Regions from separate parts of the Homo sapiens genome. Here region 2 is linked to region 1. The links are contacts of gene promoters, found by promoter capture Hi-C in human tissues and cell types (Jung and others, 2019). All regions are on one chromosome and are shown on one strand. The core of a region is centred on a gene start or on the middle of the fragment in contact, and the rest is flanking DNA. Distances in the headings are between cores, read along the strand shown.

Evidence for each region. The method cuts DNA at HindIII sites, captures the fragments that hold promoters and counts their contacts. A contact is called where the count stands out against the background at its distance.
Region 2: a contact is called between a fragment that was not itself captured here and the fragment with the promoter of ALG9 in region 1, in 1 of the 25 tissues and cell types used here (mesendoderm cells).

What each region holds. Positions count from the first base shown.
Region 1 is chr11:111,869,782-111,873,176 of GRCh38, forward strand. It overlaps ALG9 (ALG9 alpha-1,2-mannosyltransferase), which reads right to left and starts at 1,800. Exons shown (of 15, transcript NM_024740.2): 1 at 1,571-1,800; 2 at 451-589. The coding sequence starts at 1,701. RefSeq lists a silencer at 1,436-1,745. The HindIII fragment of the contact is 8,331 bases long and covers 1-3,395 here.
Region 2 is chr11:111,689,701-111,693,095 of GRCh38, forward strand. The region is part of intron 4 of SIK2 (salt inducible kinase 2); the gene reads left to right. It also overlaps a transcript of PPP2R1B not described here. Among named protein-coding and RNA genes, the nearest start is that of PPP2R1B, 75 kb to the right of the region's middle. RefSeq lists an enhancer at 2,922-3,395. The HindIII fragment of the contact is 5,056 bases long and covers 1-3,395 here.

The sequences.
Region 1 (3,395 bases), core at 550-3,049:
GTTAAATACCAGCCTCGGTGACATAATGAGCCCCCATCTCTGTTTTTTGAGACAGAGTCTCGCTCTGTTGCCCAGGCTGGAGTGCAATGGTGTGATCTCGGCTCACTGTAAACTCTGCCTCCCATGATCAAGCATTTCTCCTGCCTCAGCCTCCCGAGTAGCTGGGACTACAGGCGCCCACCACCATGCCCGGCTAATTTTTGTATTTTTAGTAGAGTCGGGGTTTCACCATGTTGGTCAGGCTGGTCTCGAATTTCTGACCTCAGGCAATTCACCGGCCTCAGCCTCCCAAAGTGCTGGGATTATAGGCCTGTTTTTTTGTTTTTTTTTTTAAGAAAATACAGTTATTTTACTAGGAGTCACACTTGTATATTATTTGTCTCTCGATTGGTAATAACACCTATGCTGCAAAATCAAGAACAAAAAGAGAAAACTAAAGAAATCACCTACTGGCTCCCAGTAGTTGAATGTTTCATCACAGTCAGAGATGTTGCTCAGGAGAGCAGCACATAACCTTGCTGAAAGCAGACACTTGAAAGCAGTAGATCCTTCAGGTGCCCAGACTTGTCCTGCTTTGTTCCCAGATAACCTGTTCAAAAGCAAAAAAAAAAAAAAAAAAAAAAGCATGTCAGGAAGGACCTGCTAATCAGAAGACCTAAATCTAGATAGAAAGGACAAAAAGGGCAAGGGACATCAAAGCACTTAAGTTATTCACCTAAAAAGGTGAATAGCTAGTTGTTTTTTCTCAGTAAAATTAATAAAAATTCAGATTTTTAAGAAAAAATTTTTATGAGATAGGGTCTTGCTATGTTGCCCAGGCTGGACTTAAACTCCTAGGCTCAAGTAATCCTCCTGCCTCAGCCTTCTGAAGAATTGACTTTAATCACTCAATCACTCCTTCCACTTCCTGCTTTTAAGGCATAAATTAACTCATACACTTTAGCTCAATGCATTTATGTCACTCCATTTATCCCAAGCCAACTAATCACTCACTTGAAGGCCACAAAGCTGTCATTCTCCTTTTCTTTCTTTTCTTAACAAGGTCATTGCTTTTGATGGCTTTATTCATTCCCCCTTATGTTCAGATAGAAGCCTAGGTGCAAGGTACATAGCCTACTCCAATTCCATATGTTGACAGCTCCCTTAATGCAGTTCTAACCTGCAGCCTCCAGGGTTTGGGAAGAGGTGATGGCGGGTTGGATGGGCCCAGTAAAGGGTCGGGACTTGAGGGAGAATAAAAGGAGCTGTGAGGAACAGCCGTAAAAGGTATACTCTTTGATCCTGTCTACATCTCCCACAGAGGCTGTGCCCACTCTAGGCCTGGCCCAGGAGCATCACAGATCCGCACTCCAAGGCAGTTTTACAGCGCAGTGGAGGGATCTAAGGTGGGCGAAGACTGAATGCTGACCCGCCCAGGAAGACCAATAGGACCTAGCTGAAGAGGGAGCTCGGGCCTCCCGCGGTGAGGCCAGGCCGGACTGAGCCCCGCGCGCCACAGCTAAGACCCTCCCGGGGGCAGCCCCGAACCGCCCCGCCGGCCGGCCACGCCCCTGCCGCGCCGCACACGTACTCGGTCCGGTGCTCCGCGCCGCCCGCCTCTCGGCTGCCCAGCAGCTCCCGCAGCTTGTCCGCAGCCGGGGCCGTATCCCCACTGCTGGCCCCGCTGCCCTTCAGGCGCTGCCGAGCCCCTCGACTAGCCATGGCAAGCCTGGGGAAAAAAGAATTCGGCACCCTATGAAGTCGGTGAGCGCGCAGACATAGCTTTGGCTGGCAAACGGTGTCCGCCGAGGGACAAAAGACCTTGACATGCGCAGAAAATACTAAATTATAGCGTTACTGGGCCAATTGGGGCAGATCCCCGAGTAGCGAAGAAATAGAACCTGAGGAGTTTCTTCATCAGGGCTGTCCCATCCACCTGCTTCTAACTCTAGCCATTCCTACCTCCCTCCAACCCTCTTTTCCGTCACTTTTCAGCATTCTCCATTCTCAAAAAAAAAAAAAACCACCTCTCAGCTCCCCTATTTAAATGAAAAAACAAATAGAAAGTGATTAAAGAAATCTACATAGTGAGATGTGAAGTATTCAGTTAAATATCACAGCACAGCTATCTACTAAAAGGTCCTTAAAATGTCATTTTTAACACCTTGCCTTCTCTGTATTTTGGTAAGAGTGACAGAGGCAGCCTGTAGCTAAAAACTGCTTCAGAGAGACAAACCGGTAATGGCAGAGTGTAGACTGATGAAATTCTGTGCGGCAAATTGAACCAGATGTCCATCACTGTCATCGCTACTACGGCATTGTGGTAGGCATTTTACATATTTTATCCTTTTTAAACTTAATACAACAACCTTGTTTTATTTACCAGGAAACTAAATAAACTTGGAGCTAGTAAATGGTGGAGCTATGTTCCAGCCCAGGACTATCTTACCGGAAAGCCCATGCTCTCTCTTCCCACCAGATCTGGTGAAAGGTCTTCATTTCCTACAATCATTTTTATACTGGCACATTGATGATATCATACCTGTGACCCCCATATCTTGGGGGTCATTCATCTAATCCTGACACTCTATCCACTCCTCTAATCACAGAGCTATATCCTACCCTGTCGAGCTCCATGCCAGTAACTGGGACAAGTTTATAGAGGGAATGCTAATCTCTTGACAAGGTCTCAGAAGGTTGTGATTTCCTACTAAAAATTCCCAAGTATTGAAAATGGAGATTGATCATATTGCTCAATTCTCACATGCAGTCATTAGTTACCAAGTTCAAATATCCAGCTTAACTCTTTTTTTCTTTTCTTTTTCTTCTTTTTTTTTTTTTTTTTTTGAGACAAGAGTCTTCCTTGCTCACCCAGGCTAGAGTGCAGTGGCACAATCTCAGCTTACTGCAACCTCTGCCCCCTAGGTTCAAGAGATTGTCTTGCCTCAGCCTCCCTAGTAGCAGGGACTATTGCCACCACACTGGCTAATTTTTGTATTTTTAGTAGAGATTAGGTTTCGTCATGTTGGCCAGGCTGGTCTGGAACTCCTGGCCTCAAGTGATCCACTTACCTCAGCCTCCCAGAATGCTGGGATTATAGGCGTGAGCCACTACACCCAGCCTAACTGTATCTCATATACCCATCTCCTCCTTTTCATTTAAGTCTAATGCAGGTCCCTCCCTGTCTACGTAGGACTAACACAATAGCATCTCCACAGGGATCACTCATCTCAAATTCATCCTGTGCAACATTAACCAGTTAATTTTCCAAAGCACTACTCTGGGGCACTTCCTTAATAAAAAACCACCGGATGTTTTCCTATTGCCTACCAAATAAAGTACAAACTCCTTATTCTAGCATTTGGTATTCATGAACTCCAGCCCCAACTTACCGTTCCAATCTTATCTCCCACTAC
Region 2 (3,395 bases), core at 611-3,110, 180 kb before region 1:
CCTCGGTTTGCTGTATATGGTGTAAAATATAAGGTAAAACCCTCATGTTTGTACATTGAACTGATTTGTTTCTGTGCCATTTCCCATTAGTTTTTGTCTTAGGCAATTAGGGGAAGGCAAATTATTTTTACTCATTTTAAATGTCAATATTACATATGTTACAGGATATGTAATGGATTTTCCATTCTATAGTCTGTGATTTTTTTTTTCTAATGGGATTGCCTGAATAAGACAAAATGTTTTTAAGTTAATTTGTTATATTCATTTGTGTGTGTGTGTATGTGTATATATATATATATATCACACATATACACGTATATATAAAGATTTATATCAATTTGTCATTTTTGTTGTGAAAATGTGATGCACAAAATTAGAATACTTTCATAGTTTATGTCTGTTCACTTCCATTTGTTTTTTTCCCTTCCTCTGCTTTTGGCCCTTCCATTTGGTGTCATTTATTTCACTCTTTTTTGCCAACCTTCTGTGAGGAACTTCACTGGGATATTTTGTTTAATGCTCCTTGAAAGCATCGGCTGCCCTAAAATTGTCTTTTTCAGAGAAGGTCTTTCTTTTTTTTTTTTTTTTTAAGTCCTTAGCTCTGTAGAAAGAAGGGGGAAAACTCCTGCTACACCTTTACATTCCCTTATTACCAAAACGAAATATTTACCAAAACAATAGCACAAAGGAGTTCTAGGAGTTGTTTTTTTTTCCAAGAGAACTATTTTATTTATTTTTTATTTTTTATTATTATTTTTTTACTTTAAGTTCTGGGATACATGTGCTGAATGTGCAGCTTTGTTACGTAGGTATACATGTGCCATGGTGGTTTGTTGCACCTATCAACTCGTCATCTAGGTTTTAAGCCCTGCATGGATTAGGTATTTGTCCTAAGGCTCTCCCTCCCCGCCTCCCCTCACCCCCAAAGAGGCCCCCATGTGTGATGTTCCCCTCCCTGTGTCCATGTATTCTCATTGTTCAACTCCCACTTATGAGTGAGAACATGTGGTGTTTGGTTTTCTATTCCTTTAGTTTGCTGAGGATGATGGTTTCCAGCTTCATCCATGTCCCTGCAAAGGACATGAACTCATTCTTTTTTTATGTCTGCGTAGTATTCCATTGTGTATATGTGCCACGTTTGCTGTATCCAGTCTATCATTGACAGGCATTTGGGTTGGTTCCAAGTCTTTGCTATTGTAAATAGTGCTACAAGAAACATACATGCACATGTGTTCTAGGAGTTTTTTTAGGCAGAGAAAGGTTATAGGTGTGTAAATCATATGCTGTAGGAATTACAAAGTGCTGTCACTAACATCTCAAAAGAAAATGTCAAAGTAAGACACCAAAGAAACTTGCAAACAAAAAACAGAATATTGCTTTGACGTTATAACCAAGTTTTGCCTGGCTATAGTATGTCTATTATAATTCTGGCATAAAATATACGTGGGTCAAATCAGTGTTTCTGATGTCATTGTGTGATATCTTAGGTTTTTGTTTTGTCTTTTTGGTTTTTATTTTTGCTTTTTAGTATCTAATCTTCAAGCCCTTCTAATTATATAGAAGTCAGATAAAAATTCAGATTGGTGAAGTTCTCTCTGGTGAAGACAGTGTGATGACTCACATTTAATTGGGCCCTCACTGTTTTCAGGTATTCTGCTAGATACTTACTTCATCTTCACAGCAATCTTGGGAGCCGCTTAGCTATTGCCAGTTACTAGATGAGAAAGCTGAGATGCAAAGAGATTAAAAAATTGGCCGAGCTGACACAGATAATAAGTAGCAGACCTGGAATTCAAACCTAGGTCTCTCTGACCACAGTATCTGTCCTTCTCCCACTACACCATTTTGTCATTTCCAAGCATTCTGTGTCACTTCTTCCTAAAGGGGTACTCACTAATTGAATTTTGGGGTCCATCATTCTATGGTTGTACATTTAGTGTCCCTGCTTCCATTCATTACAAGCAGACACACACACACATGTGTGCACAGAGTATATCTAAGCACTCAAATTTTCTTGCCCACACTTAATTCTCTATCATCTCCACTATCCTCAAAAATTTTAGTAAATGTTTATTAAGCTTCTACTCTGCTCTTGGACTAAGTCCTGGATATTCATACATTTCAAGACAAAAACAGCAGCAGTGACAAAAAGCTTAACTCTGCTCTTACCTCAAGGAGTTAATCAAATAAGAACCAGACCTTTAAGTTAATATAACACAAAAAGATCATTGTTTTCAGGGACATGAGGCTAGGAGAAAGACTAACTCTGTCTGGAAGAATCAGGGAAATTATTAGCTAACACTTGATTAACAAGAAGGTATTTGTGGCAGGATTGGGGATCGGGGAGACAGAGAAAGAAAGAGGGAGAGGCCAGGCTCGGTGGCTTATGCCTGTAATCCTAGCACTTTGGGAGGCCAAGACGGGCAGATTGCCTGAGCTCAGGAGTTCGAGACCAGCCTGGGCAACATGGTGAAACCTCGTCTCTACTAAAATACAGAAAATTAGCCAGGAATGGCAGCATGCGCCTGTAGTCCCAGCTACTCCGGAGGCTGAGGCAGGAGAATTGCTTGAACCCAGGAGGTGGAGGTTGCAGTGAGCTGAGATCCTGCCACTGCACTCCAGCCTAGGCAACAGAGCGAGACTCAGTCTCAAAAAAAAAAAAAAAAAAAAAAAAAAAAAAAAAAAAAACACAAAAAGGAGAGAGGGAGAGAGAGAGATAGAGATCGAGGCTGGGGTATCTGCCTCAAGCAGATGGATCCACACATGCAAAGGCTGAGAGGCCAGAGCGAATTGGAGTGGTAAGGAAACTGCAGGTATTAGCCAGTGAGAATGATAGGAAAAAAGCCAGGAGAGGCGGGCATGGGCCAGATCATTCACGTGCTATAAAGTGTTTAGATGGATTCCAATGTCTTTAAAGAATTTCTCTAGGATATTTATTTTTATCTGTAAATTTTATAACTTCTTGATGGCCCTGATTTTCTTTAAGGATCATCTTCTTATCTCTGAGAACTCTTAAATCTTAATGGAATCTAACACATGGGAAAAATAGGGCTCTGTGGGAAGAAATTACAAGAACCCTTACAAAGTTATTCCCTCAAATTATACTTTTTTCTGGGTTTTTTTTTTGGCTTATGAAAATCTCTTTAATTGCAAAATAAGCTGAATAAATGAACTGCTTTAGCCATCTTGTATATTGAAATTGAAGAGAAGCACAAAATTAAAATATTTTTGTGTTTATAAAACAAAATGGAATAGAAGTATCAAACATGGTTCATTTTAATAAATAACAGAAACATGGCTTTGAGATCAGTTTCCAGGTTTTGTTTTCCCCGTGGGTAAAAACTTGAGACAGGCCGGGCGCAGTGGCTCACGCCTGTAATCCCAGCACTTTGAGG